Linked DNA regions of Homo sapiens: all the other regions are linked to region 1. The links are contacts of gene promoters, found by promoter capture Hi-C in blood cells and fetal thymus (Javierre and others, 2016). All regions are on one chromosome and are shown on one strand. The core of a region is centred on a gene start or on the middle of the fragment in contact, and the rest is flanking DNA. Distances in the headings are between cores, read along the strand shown. Region 1 holds the start of AGMO (alkylglycerol monooxygenase). Region 2 has its middle 230 kb from the start of LINC02587. Region 3 has its middle 160 kb from the start of CRPPA-AS1.

What was found. Contacts are between HindIII fragments. The CHiCAGO score rates a contact against its expected background, and 5 or more counts as called.
Region 2: a fragment that was not itself captured here is called in contact with the fragment with the promoter of AGMO in region 1 in 1 of 17 cell types (endothelial precursors); the score reaches 5.4 in endothelial precursors.
Region 3: a fragment that was not itself captured here is called in contact with the fragment with the promoter of AGMO in region 1 in 1 of 17 cell types (endothelial precursors); the score reaches 5.2 in endothelial precursors.

What each region holds. Positions count from the first base shown.
Region 1 is chr7:15,560,285-15,565,044 of GRCh38, forward strand. It overlaps AGMO (alkylglycerol monooxygenase), which reads right to left and starts at 1,731. Exons shown (of 13, transcript NM_001004320.2): 1 at 1,436-1,731. The coding sequence starts at 1,561. The HindIII fragment of the contact is 1,289 bases long and covers 746-2,034 here.
Region 2 is chr7:15,918,554-15,923,465 of GRCh38, forward strand. No RefSeq gene overlaps it. Among named protein-coding and RNA genes, the nearest start is that of LINC02587, 230 kb to the left of the region's middle. The HindIII fragment of the contact is 1,795 bases long and covers 1,404-3,198 here.
Region 3 is chr7:16,045,548-16,050,449 of GRCh38, forward strand. No RefSeq gene overlaps it. Among named protein-coding and RNA genes, the nearest start is that of CRPPA-AS1, 160 kb to the right of the region's middle. The HindIII fragment of the contact is 737 bases long and covers 1,362-2,098 here.

The sequences.
Region 1 (4,760 bases), core at 481-2,980:
TGCAGAAAAGAGATGCTATTATGTTCCATATGAAATTATTTTACATTTCCTGATTAGTCATTTCAGAATTGAAAGGCCCAGATTTGGGAAGCCCTGCAGGAGATGGTAGACACTCATTTTAGAGGATTACTTCCTACACAGTGGTAAAGAAGTCTAATTATTTTAGACATACACTAAACATGTGCTCAAATTCTATCATCCAATTTGAATATGAAATGTAATCATAGATATAACCACGATAATTATAATATTATAAGATTAAGAGGAACATCTTCCAAATTAGTTTAAAAAATACATTTAGAATAAGGTAGATAATTAGAGGTCTATTGTCTCTACATGTATAATTTAGACCCACTTCAAGAGGCTTTCCTTAAAGATGCACATAATTCTAATTTTTCATATTAGACTTACCAGAACTATTTCTAATGATGAAATTCAAAGAGTAGAGACAATTTTCTGCTTAGAATTTTAGAGAATATGGTAATTTTACATGTTTGCTTAAAACATGATTCAGATTTTATTCATTTGGTTTTGATTTTTGTTTCACATAATAAGAGATGTTTTGAAAGCTCCACTATTGGTGATGGAGCATTGAATTTGGTTTGATATTGCAGTATAAACAATAATAATTTATGAAGATATCAGTGCCACTTTTTTTAACTTAAAAACTCAGAAAGAAAGTGTAATATCTAATCTTGAAAAAGATACGGATTTTACTCATTTGGAAGCTAATCATGAGTTTTGAAGCTTTCTAAACTGAACTCTCAATAACATATTCTATGATGTCATTTTTTTTCTATTTCTGCCATGAACTAGTGAGTGTTGTAGGAATAACTTTGATAGGGTGGGGAACTTCAGTATTCAAGTTCTAATTCTGGATATTTCCACTTCCAATCATAGCCAGGAACCAGAAGTGAAATGTGCCTCTGAGCACTTCAGAGTTTCAAAGAAAACTTGGGTCAAATTCAAACTTAGGAAGTCAGAGCTGGACCTGGTCAAGCTGCATATCCTTCATTCTGCTGAACTACTCTACCAAATGAAAGAGGAAATAGTTTCCCTGGAAGGGGTGGACAAGTGAAAGATTTAAAAATGAAATTGTTACAAAGTTTACTGATGTGGTGTAACTATTTGTCATTGAGCTTCCAATAGCTACATTTACAATGCCATGGAGTCCAGGAAAACTTTAAACTTTTGTTTTTGTCATATTCTGGAGTGACATATAAAAGAGGGAATTTACAGGTGAAGATGGCTATGGATTGTAAGAAAATTCAAGTGGAAATTCTACTTTTGCTTCACGCCTTTAAGAAACTGAATTATTATTATTAGAATGTAATCATTTGAATAATGAAAGTGAACAAAACCCTAAGGAGATTGACCTTACCATTTATTAAGAAAGCAGCAAGAATAAGAGTAGCCTCTTCCAATAAAGTCTCACCTTTTTTACATAATCAGGCACCTCTTCTAATGTTTGGAATGAAGTTTCACTGGGTTTCATCGTGTAAAACAACATGCGAAATCCCTGGGAAACTGAAACATCCTGCTGGGCTTCTGGGTTCTTCATTTCTGCCCTTGTCTGATTCCCAGCTGGAGAATATTTAGGATTCAATGCTTGAAGCCTGAGGCTGAACAAAGAGGACGAGATGTGCAGCTCAGAACAAGCTCTTTGTCAGAGAACAGCTAAAACCAAAGCTCCACTGAGAGCACACTCAACAGCCGATTCTGTGTAGAGAGACAGGAAAATACAAGGATCAAGAACAAGTACAGAGTTCAGTGGGCGCTGGGCCAGAAACAGGGCATGTGGGGGAGGGAAAAGAGGACTCATACCCAAATCAAAGTCATACAGTGCAGTTTGACTGTAGGTGGAGCAAGTTACTACTTAAAAAAGAAGAGAAAAAACATCATAATAGTGTCTCGGAAAGAAAAAAGTGATAACGCAGGTATATGTTCACTCTGAAAAACTGGATAGAAATTCAAGCATCAAGTCACATAGAAAAACCTTTTTTTCTCCTCATTTAGAAATTTACAATGTGTTCAAGCTTGTAGTTTCTTTATTTCCTACAGAGACTGTGTATAGGCGAGCTACTTAATAATAGCTTGAAAGTCAGTAAGCACTGAATATCTGGCTCCTTATTGCCTATCTATATTTCTGTATCTGAATCATGTTATTACCACTTCTGAATGTTTGCAACCAGTTTAGGGGCATTTGGCTTATTACATAATCTACATTATTTAATGGAAAATTGGCTAGTCACATCTTCTCTATTCTTCTTAGTACTTATGGGAACTTTCTGATTAAAGAAGGTGCCAAGATGTTGCTGTGAGACCTGTTTCTGTTTTACAGAAAGAGCTTAAGTGATTGTACCTTTTAAGTAGATTAGAAGGCACTTAATTTATTACATTACCAGTGAATATGTGGAGCTTGCCAGAATAGCCTCAGCTCTTTACCCAAAACAGCTGTAATCATCCTTTAGCTGCCATTTCATCATTTAAAGATGTTTACATAGATCTAATTAAAGTATCAATGCACGATTGTTTTAGAAAAATATAGAAACTATAGATAAGCAATAATAAGCTGCCCAAAACGCTATTAACATTTTGGTACATGTATGGTCAGTTTTGCTATAATGTGATATATCCATTCCTAAAAATCACTATACTGTACAAAATTGTGCAATAAAAACCACGGGACTTGTGAGAAAAAATGTGATTAGGGTAAAATACTCAAAAACTTCATAATGACCCACAAGGAACAAGAAAAAAAGGATGAGAGCCTAATAAAAATGGTAGCACACTTTCACACGTTACATGGTTAAGATATACATAAATACTAAAATAAATATGATGCTTTACCTTGAAAAAGACCTGAAACTTGTTTTGGAAATTAGGCATTGGAAGATTTGCAAACTGCAAGTTACTTTAGCTTGTTGAAATGTGGGTTATCTGAAATCAGACAGAAAGTTGCAATATGACATATGGGTGTCAAGGCTCACAACACACAGGTGAAGTGAGGGTGTTACTATAAGTGGTGGGTGTATTTTGTGCATCCTAAGCCTTTCTGTTTTTCAGTTCAGTTTTTTAAAGTTCAACTACTCTTTTTCACTGAAAATAAAATCACACATGAGCATAGGCAGTATGCTCAAATTATTTTCTGGTATATTAATCACATTGGAACAAATTTAATCTCAAAGCACATGTTATAGCAGAATTGACTGTCCTTTCAGACCATTCCCATTACCAATAAGTACATATGGACATTAATTTTTAATAAAGGTGTCTGGGCGTGGTGGCTCACACCTGTAATCCCAGCCAGTACTTTGGGAGGCCGAGACGGGCTGATCACCTGAGGTCAGGTGTTTGAGATCAGCCTGGCCAACATGGCAAAACCCCGTGTCTACTAAAAATACAAAAATTAGCTGGGTGTGGTGATGGGCACCTGTAGTCCCAGCTATTCGGGAGGCTGAGGCAGGAGAATTGCTTGAACCCAAGAGGTGGAGGTTGCAGAGAGTGGAGATTTTGCCATTGCACTCCAGGCTGGGGGACAGAGCAAGACTCTGTCACAAAAACAAAAAAAAATTTAATAAAAATGATCATAGTAGGCATACTGTTTTATTACCTGCTTTCAAAACAATTTTGGAAATTAACAATGTGATACAAGAGAAAAAAATACAAACAATATAGCTGTATATAAAGTCAAAAGTGGCAGCATCCTTTCTTCTCAATATATGCACACCTTGCACTTCACTTCATAGGGATAACATATCCTCTTGGTGGGGTTTTTTTTTTTTTTTTTTTTTGCCATATCTGTTTTTTCCTAAAAGGGATAGTTATTATCATTATTACTATACAAATACGTTTCTATATACACATAATGGTTCGATTTTGCAATGGACCTTATCAAACATAAGATACAGCAAGTTCCTTCTTGGAGTCAATAACTTACCAGGAACATTTCTTTTTTAGTATATGATTATACAGGTACAGCCTTTTCTTCGTTGTTTTTACTGGCTGCAAAAGTGTGTGTGTGCATTTCAATGAGCAAAACAAAATTATTTCTAACTTTTTAAAGCAGAAGCAATTTTATACAAGAAAAAAGTTGTTACATAGATGATGGGAGAAGTAAAAAACCAAGCAGGAACAAAGAGGTAATCTAGAGATTAGTACCAATAGGAAGCCACTACCATTGTTAAATTGTAGGGACAAATGGAGAAGGTTGTATTAGTAGGGCCCAGGGGCTATGGTCATCTAGGAAAAGTTAGAACCACCATTGGCTTGTCTAGCAAGAGTATTTCCCATGGAGCAAAGCCAATCAAAGCCAGAAATAATACCCATGGCAGAGAGGGAAGAAAGGGAAGTACTATGGCTTCTCCCTTCTTCCTGCCCACCAGTCTCCCAACAGTACTTCCCATTAGGCTATGACATGGTTGGATTTGCGTCCTGGCCCAAATCTCATGTCAAATTGAAATCCCCAGTGTTGGAGGAGGGGCCTCGTGGGAGATGATTGGATCATGGGGGTAGATTGCCCTCTTGCTGTTCTCCTGATAGTGAGTGAGTTCTCAAGAGATTGGTTGTTTAAAAGTGTGTAGCACCTCCCTCTTCTGTCTCGTCCTCCTGCTCTGGTCATGTAAGGCACACCTGTTTCCCCTTCTGCAGTGATTGAAAGTTACTTGAGGCCTCCCTAGCAATTATTCCTGTACAGCCTGCAGAACTATGAGGCAACTAAAACTCTTTTCTTTACAGATTACTCAATCTCAGATTGTTCT
Region 2 (4,912 bases), core at 1,051-3,550, 360 kb after region 1:
CTGGATTATATGTGTGGGCTTTAAATCCAATACAAGTGAACCAATAAGAGACACACAGAGCAGAGCCACACAGGGAAAACAGGAGACCATGTAAAGATGGAGGGAGAGATTGGATTGACCAAAACCCAAGAAACTCTGGAGCCACATGGAAGAGGCAAGGCAGGATTGCCCCATTAGAGCCTTTGGGAAGAGTAAGCCCTGTAGACACCTTGACTTCAGACTGCTGGCCTCCAAACCGTGAAAGGTTAACCTTCCATTACTTAAATCCACCGAGTTTGTGGGAAGTTGTTATGGCAACCCTAGGAAACTAATGTAGGTAGCTATTTATACATTCACTCCTAACTATATCTTAAAATTCTGCAGGGCAGATGTCCCACATTGTTTTTAAATTAATAGACTTTATTTCTTGAGCAGTTTTCACTTTACAGAAAAATTGAGCTCCAAGTACAGAGCATTCTCATATACCCCTTCCCATTTCCCTTATTATTAACAGCTTGCATTAGTGATGTACAGTTGCTACAGTTAATGAGCCAACAGTGATACGTTATTCTTGACTGAAGTCCATAGTTTACATTAAGGTTCACTCTTTGTATTGTATATTCTGTGGGTCTAGGCAAATGTTAATGACATGGAACCACCATTACAGTATCATACAGAATAGTTTCACTGCCCTAAAAATCCTGTGTTCCACCTATTTATTCTTCCCTTCTCCCAAACCTTGGAAACTGCTGATCTTTTTTACTGTCTCCACCTGCCTTTTCCAGAAAGCCATATAGTTGGAATCATACAGTATGTAGCATGTTCAGATTGACTTGTTACCGTATCAGCGTTTACGTTTTCTTCATGTCCCTTGTTTGTTTGATAGCTCATTTTTTAAAAATCACTGAATAATCTTCCATTGTATAAGAGGCCATAGATTTGTATTTCACCTTTGTAGCCTTACCACATCGCTCAGAGTATTACATAAATGTTCATTAAATTAATAGATACACAAGTAGATACATATACATGGATGAATGACTGAATAAACAGTGAACGAGTTTTAATGACTTATTGAATATAAAGTGAAAGTATGCAATCCTATAAAACGACTAAAGTGACTATATTATTTTCTTGCTGTCACTGAAAGCACGCAATGGATGTCACTCAGGATTTCTAGGTTCATTCTGGGTTCTGGCTTGCATTGAACTGGTTTGTGTTAGATCCCAAGGCCAAAGGAATAAACTGAACTGAAAAAGTCGGTATACCTAAATGACTCCTGGCCACATCAGAAATCGCCTTAAACTGCTAGGAAGTGTATAATTCATCTTCACAGATTCACAGTACTTTGAGTTTCATTACTGTTGAGTTTTGTTGTCAATTTTAAAAACAGTTAAAAGGTAAAAAACATGTAATACTTATGAAGCTTCTTCAGGGCACAATTTCAGGCTGAGTAATATCATTTCTCTGTCCTATAGCTGAATGGCTGAGATCAGAGGATTTGCTTCAGTTACCCTTTTATCTCACCCTCTTTTTTGTTGAAAAGATTAACTTTCAGTAGCACTTAATATTTATGAATGAAATTATACCAAATAGAGAATTCAAAATAATTTTGAGAGGTCTTATGGGAAAAGGAAAAAGATTGGTCCCAAGATGATAACTGTTGAAGCTGAGTAACAGAGATAAGAAAGTTTATTATATTCTCTACATTTGTATATGTTTGAATTTTTCCATAGTTAAGAAAACTCATTTTATAAAATACTGATAAAAAGAATGTCAACATAATTTGTTGTTATTGTTATTGTCATTGTTGTTGAGACAGAGTCTCGCTCAGTCACTCAGGCTGGAGTGCAGTGGTCCGATCTCAGCTCATCGCAACTTCTGCCTCCCAGGTTCAAGCGATTCTAGTGCCTCAGCCCCCCAAATAGCTGGAATTACAGGTGGCACACTACCATGCCCGGCTAATTTTTGTATTTTTAGTAGAGACGAGGTTTCACCATGTTGGCCAGGCTGGTCTCGAACTCCTGGCCGCAAGTGATCCACCCATCTCGGCCTCCCAAAGTGCTGGGATTGCAGGTGTGAGCCACTGCACCCGGCCAACATATTTTTTAAATAACTACGTTATAAATGTAAACTGAAAGTCGTTTTAATCTCATGTCAAATCAGAATTTTTGATACCCCTAAAATACCTAATACCCTAAAAATCTGTGTGAATTAAGCAGCTTCAGACCTTTACATTGCCTAAGTTGCTTCTCTCTCTCTCGCTCTGCCTCCATATATATATATATTATTATGTAATTATATTATATTATACATATCTCTCTTCACATATATATATCTCCATATATATTACTACAAACAGTTAATATATTACTATTAAAAAGTTAGTATAAAATATATACTATAAGAAAGTTGCAAGACGAAATATTTGAATAGTCTCATAAAGCTGTCAGCATATAATATGATTTCGGCTGCATTTTTTCGTGGTGACTTCAGAGAAGATACATGAAACATTATCTGATATGCAACCTCACGGTAAATAATTTCGTTTATTCTCAAATTATTGGTATACCACAAATAGGAAGGATTCCCCTTCCCCCACTTTTGGCAATCCTTAAATAAACTGCAAATTCATGTCACCATCTGGCTGGCAATGGACACAGGCAGATTAATCATTTCCTTTTTGAATAATAAAAAAAGTTCCCTTCAAAATGCCCCCAAAATATTGGATAGGAAAGAAAAACATGAAAGTTTTATTTACAATTTCAAATGGTTTGCAACACACGAAACCCTGCAACGGAAACTTGCTTTGCTCAAGCTGGCATTACACAGTTTGATTTCTTATTGATAAACATATATATTATGCCTACAAGAAATGTCATTTATTAAAAGAATGATACAAAAAATTGAACTTTTGGTTTTCAGAAAGCACAGATTGCTCAAACACAGCATCTTAGTTCCCCAGGAGGCTCCACTCAGTGCCTCCCAACACCTCTCACTTCAGTCTCCCGCTTTTTCATTCTTCTCTTCCTCACTGTTTATAATAATAATTTGTAACACATTTATCATCGTTGGTAAAGTAAATCATTGAAACCTGAATTGCCGCCACCTTGCTGTTGAACATGGAAAAGAGCTGAAATCCCTTTGAAATAACCTGTATCACTTGGTTGATATTTTTTTCCTGCCCGTAGCAATGTTACTTTGGTTTTGTTGTTTTGAAGCTTTTTGATTTTTTTTTGCTACACATTTTGATGTTTGACTAATAGAAAAATATTTCCTTATTTTCTTAGTCATTACTATGCCAAGTGATTCATTTCTTCTCTGCCTTTTTTTTGTAGCCTCAGGCATTCTTAGTGGTGTCACTAAATTTATCTTGCAGATGTTAAAAAAGAATCCCCACTAGAATCCTAGTATGTAGACTTTTATAGTGTTATGAAACATGCCTATTTTTAAATATTTAATTAATATTTTAATGTGGTATAAATAACAGCATCTCTGAAGCCATTGCCATTCCCAGGAGTCAGGGGAGGCTATACAGAACACTGTCCTGTTACAATAATTTTCTAATGATTTGGATTATAGTCATTGCTTCCTTTTTCTGCTGTTATAATAATTTGACCCCTGACCCATACCAACTTCCTAGTCATCTATTCAGTTTTTATTTATTTATTCAATAAATATCTCTTGACCACTACTTTTTTGCCATGCACTGAGTTAAACATTGTTAACTATTAGTTTAATACATTGTTAATACATTCAAGTAGCTCACACATCCTGAGGGCTGTCTTTGTTCAAAGAGTGTTTATAGACAAGAAAAATGGGAGTAACAATGTCCTTCTGTGACATAAGCATAATTGGAAAAAAAAGTAAAAGTATAAACAAGAGAGCTTTGGAAAGAAAAGAAGGTTCTGAAACATTTTAGATTGGGAGCAAATATTTGGATTTGAACACCAGGCTTTCTAGCTTTTGACAAAATTCAAAATCCTTTTACATGAAAATCCCTCAACAAAGTAGGTAGAGAAGGACTTTACCTCAACATTAAAAAGGTCATGTATTAAATATATATGTGTGTATATATATATACATATACACACATACATACATATATCTCACAGCTGATATCATACTCAATGGTGAAAAACTGAAAGATTTTCCTATGAGAAATAAGGCATGATTGCCCCATTCTCCACCACTTCTATTCAACAGAGTACTGGAAGTCCTCGATATAACAATCAGGCAAAAAAGAAATAAAAGTCATCCAAATTGAAAAGGAAAAAGCAAAATTATCTCTGTTTGCAGATGACATGACCTTACACATTGAAAATGTCAAAGACTCCACCAAAAAAAAAAAACCTGTTAGAATTAAGAAATGCAGCAAAGTTGTTGATTCAAAATCAACATACAAGTATCAGTTGCATTTCCGCACACTATCAAAGAACTGTTCAAAAAAGAGATTAAGAAAGCAATCCTGGTCAGGCACGGTGGCTCACACCTGTAATCCCAGCACTTTGGGAGACCGAGGTGGGTGGATCACGAGGTCAGGAGATGGAGACCATCCTGGCTAACATGGTGAAACCCTGTCTCTACTAAAAAAATACAAAAAATTAGCTGGGCGTGGTGGCGGGCACCTGTAGTCCCAGCTACTTGGGAGGCTGAGGCAGGAGAATGGCATGAACATGGGAGGCGGAGCTTGCAGTGAGCCGAGATTGCACCACTGCACTCCAGCCTGGGTGACAAAGCGAGACTCCGTCTCAAAAAAAACAACAACAACAAAATAAGAAAGCAATCCTATTTACAATACCCTCAAAAAGAATGCAAATTTATGAACAAACTTAACGAAGGAAGTGGAAGTCCTTGTACACATGAAACTAGAAAATATTGATGAAAAAAATTAAAACACAAATAAATGGAAAGACGGCTGGGCGTGGTGACT
Region 3 (4,902 bases), core at 480-2,979, 490 kb after region 1:
TTACCATGGCCATATTCCAAGCTGTTCTATTAAGTCCCTTGAGCAATTCCAAACTGATATTGTTATTTAACAGAAATTTTTCTTGTGTACAGATGTAAAGAGATACTAGTATAGTTACACTGCAAGTCACCATATAATCTGACTTCAGCATAGACATGTCTCTGAAAAACCTAGGATGCTGCTTTTCCTTCAGCCATCCATCAACTCAATGACAGAATGTAAGAAAATTCTATTATTTTCCACCTTCCCCCAAAAACCAAAAATAAGAGGTTTCACCAGTTTATGAAATACTTAAAATTTCATCAAAGATAGATAGATTGATGCCCAAGTGATAGTTTTGTGAGAAAAGAGAAAATCCTAGTAGATTTATCTATTTCTTGAATAGGAAGAGGGGTTAACCCAAGAGTCATTTGTCACCCACCATGTGGAATCAATTATGTCAGACTGAGCCATCAATTAAATTGGAAGTCATTGCCCTTATGCTTTCTAGATTATAGAAAAAATCTTATACAAATGAGAAAGAGAAAGCAGCAAGACTGTACCTGGTTGATTCAAACCCTTGCTTTCCTGCAATTCTATTACCAAAGATTGTCTTTCATCACGTTCAGGATTTTCACCTACAACTGCACCGCAATACCAGCATCCAGTTACACATCCACACCACTGCTTAGCAGACAGACTAAGAAATCTCTCCAGTTTAGTCATTTATGTGTCAGCAAGCAGGGAGCCCCACTTCCCTCATTGCCAGAAAACTTACTTCTGCAACACTGGAGTGATGGCTAGACATTTACAAGCCATTTTCTTTGGCTGACAATTTTGTTTTAAACCCTGCAACTACTGTTTTATTGAATTAATTTCAAATGCAGTTGTGTTTCCAGTAATCTACGACAGTTTTAAAAGTTTGAAGATGGAGACAACAGTAGAGCAGATGTATTTCATTGGGACTTGTTAGCATCTTGCTAAACTATGTTAGAGAGATTTTTCAGGAGGCAAACATCAGGTCAAGCAACAACAAATCCTTTTTAACCATATATAATTTTACCTCAAGAGATAAAATGGGAATACACAAGCCATAAAAATCTTAGCTCAACATGCAAGGATTACACATGCATATAAAATATAAGATGAATGATTTTTAAAATCCTGAAAATATCACAACAGATTATTAATTGTAAAGAAAATGCATTTGTTAAAAAAAAAAAAAAGGGCACCTATGATATGCCAGACACTGCTCTAGATTTGTGGAATTAATCAAGGTCTAAGGGGCTTGACTTCAAGGAGTTTCTGTCCAAAAAGGGTTGGGGGGCAGGATGGGTGGCAGGGAGCAGACAGGAACAAAGAAAATAACAAGTAAATTACAAAGCTTATGGGAACATAGTAAGTACAATGAAAAGATGAACAGGTGGAGTAGGGGAAGGGAGCTTCCCAAGTGCAGGGATTGGAGAAGGAGGGCAGGTCAGAGAATCTGAGTTATCTATATATTCTTTGATAAGGTGACATTCGAACAAACACTTGAAGGAAGTGAGGGCATTAGCCAGTATTTTTAAATATGCTTGCTATATTATACTTGCTATATTTTAAATATACTTGCTATATTTCAGTTCTGTTTATCACATCAGTGTGTAATTCTCAAATCCATAGAATTACACACTGATCTGATAAACAGAACTGAAGACTAATCATTAAAATTTTAGAGAGCACAAATGGTAAAACAAATGGTAAAAGTACACTTGCATCTCACTTGGATTGCTTCTCCCAAGGACTTCTTTTCCACACCTCTTTCTTTGTTCTCATTTCTTGCTTTACTCTTCTGTTTTTCCTGCCAAATTCATGTGCTTTCTCTGTTTCTATATAAGTGCTTTTAAAATTAAGTGAATAACTAGAAGTGTTTCCAGTATAACTATCTTCTCAGGAAACCAACAAGCCCACTTACCTTATCCTTGCTGTGAACACTTTCCTTTACTGAGGTGACCATAAGAATCAAGGTAAAGTCTATGTCTTATTTCATGATTTTAAGTGTGTTCCTGAAACCCTTGACTTCTCAATCTGCAATTACAACTTTTCACATATAAAAACCTATCCATGCAGAAATCATCTAAGCTTGTTATACTTTACAACCCAGACTCATATATTAACATTCTTCATTTTTGTCTTTAAAAAAGTTTTGTCATTGTTTGACCAAGAGAACATTATTTCACAACTCAAATAAATATTCTTCTTCTGAGGTTTATTCTCATTACATTAGGCAGCTACCTCAGAAATACAGAAAACAAAAAAAAAAAAACAAAATCTTTAACCTACTTAAAAATTTTTAATTCATCACAGCAAGTGATCATCTTTCAATGGCCACAGAATAAGCAAAGCCTGGCCTGGCATGGTGGCTCACGCCTGTAATCCCAGCACTTTGGGAGGCCGAGGTGGGTGGATCACGAGGTCGGGAGATCGAGATCATCCTGGCTAACATGGTGAAACCCCATCTCTACTAAAAATACAAAAAATTAGCCAGGCGTGGTGGCGGGCACCTGTAGTCCCAGCTACTCGGGAGGCTGAGGCAGGAGAATGGCGTGAACCCGGGAGGCGGAGCTTGCAGTGGGCTGAGGTCGCGCCACTGCGCTCCAGCCTTCCAGCCTGGGAGACAGAGCGAGACTCCGTCTCAAAAAAAAAAAATTAGGCAAAGCCTAATTGTTCGATATAGTTAGAAACTTTTCAATTTTGTGGGCTACTAAAACATAGGGAGGTGGTCAATGCTTATTCACTATTCCCTGAGACCTCTCCAAACAACTTCACTAGCAGAGGAGTAGAAAAGTAGGAATTTAAAAAAGGAAGACTTGAGGATACTTTATTCTTTGGGTATATTAGCCACTCTTTTGAAACTCAAGGAAATGTCTAGGGCATAGTTCTAAGAAAAGGATAGGTGGTTGTCAAACAAAAATCACTTCAAAAGATATACCACTGAACCTGAGGACCTATCAGTCTGGAGTTTCTGGTTTTGTTTCTACTTTTAAATCATAGCCTTATATATAAGAGAATAAATGAAAGCTACCCTTTGCTTTTAATAATTCTTGTTTCCTTTCTCCATGCAAAGAAAAATGAAAGGAAAAGGAGGCTTTCATCTGATTTATTCTAAAATGAGCCTACATCATTGCTTAAGATAAGGTATACATAATCTTTAACATCATAAAGTTAAAAGCATATTGTCAAAATGCCCCTTTAACACAAAAAGTGAATTTTTAAGAGATTTTCTGTTTTCTTAGTTAACAGAACTTATGAAAAACCTGTACTTTTTTCAGCAATTTCTCCCTGCCAATTGCATTATTTCATTTCAGAAGTCTTAGCTCAATTCAGTTGCTGAATTGTCAGGCATTATTTCTTTGAGGGAGTTACCTCCCACAGGAGAAAACAAGTTGCCATGATGAGCAAAAACCTGAGATGTTTCATACGATTTGGTTTTCCATCTAAACCACTCCTTGGCTTAGAAAAAGCATGTCATTCAAAGGCAGAAGGGAAAATATTTTCGATGAATTACCATCCCAGAAAATTCAGCCAACAAAACATTTTAGGATAGATCTTCCTGAGGCTACATGCCACTCACTGGCAATCTTAAACAACAACAGTTTAAGAAATATACCATAGTTCTTGGCCATAGGAACAAAAGTCTTAGGTGTTTCTCGCATTCTCATCTTTTTCTCTTCCCAGAGGCAGATTTTCAGGTTAGGACTTCTCGATCTGCTATCTTAAGTGCTTCTTTTGCCCTTGCAATCACCTTTCTCTTTTCCTTTTTATTTTCATATCTATTAACCTTTCAAATCTCATTTCTAAATGATAGCATTCTTGAGTTTTTTGACACTAATATCGATCTATAAGTGTAATATCTCAAATGTGTATGGCATCTTAAGAGTATAATGAGATTTCATGTTTGTTATCTTGTTTTTGATGAGGTAGGTCAGGTATGGAGTGTTACAAATATAAATTTGGAGACTGGGGATCAGTTCAGCTATTTATATAACTTAGATACATTTATAGTAAGGGAAGGACCCAAGCCTGGAATCCAGGATTCAGCTTCCTAGTCCAGTTCTTCACCCACTCTCCTGCACCTTCCTTCTATTGTAACTTGGGAAATGGGTACTTTTGTCCCATCAACTAGGAACGACGTGACCCATAAAAGAGAATTATCTCCCATTGAAAGGAGACATTCAGTAAATATCTCCAAATGGAATTATTATTGGTGAAAGCTTAAGAAGGTACTACGGCATAGAAAAATGTCCTTTTGAAATAAGCAAATTACATCATGTTACTGTCAACAATTAGGCCATTTACCAAAACTATAATATTCAATGTCATTCATTGCAAATCTAATACAAAGCCATTTTTAAAAGCTGAACAACTGACAAGTATTTCCAGAGGTATCCTTTGCCTGAATTATGTGTTTACCTTAGGAAATGTTGCGAAGCCAGGTACAGGATGTCATAACAACCTCTGCTTGGATCAGAAGATTGTTGCTCTGAAATTTAGAGGACAATTGGCTTGTTTTCTTTGTTGCCCTATCTCATAAGCTATTTTTAAGGAAACTTACATTGGCACAGTATTGGGAAATGGTCCGTAAGGTTAGCAAAGGCTGAAAATTGGTGGCAAAAAATTTAGTTTCTCTCTTCTGTTCTTCCATTTCCTACTCAATTTTAGCTCTATCTGTAGCTATGATAATCAGCTTAGCACAACTACAAATTAAGGTTGAATAAGCACACTTATGGCCTAAAGAAATAAAAACAAACTTTGCAGGTGAGGGTGTAAGTAGATACAGCTTAAAAATCGTGTACCTGTATTTTTTCTTCATTTATTTTCTGTTTTTCTTGGACATCTTTGTAGGAGAGGAGTATTCTGAGTTTATACATTAGAGCAAAAATG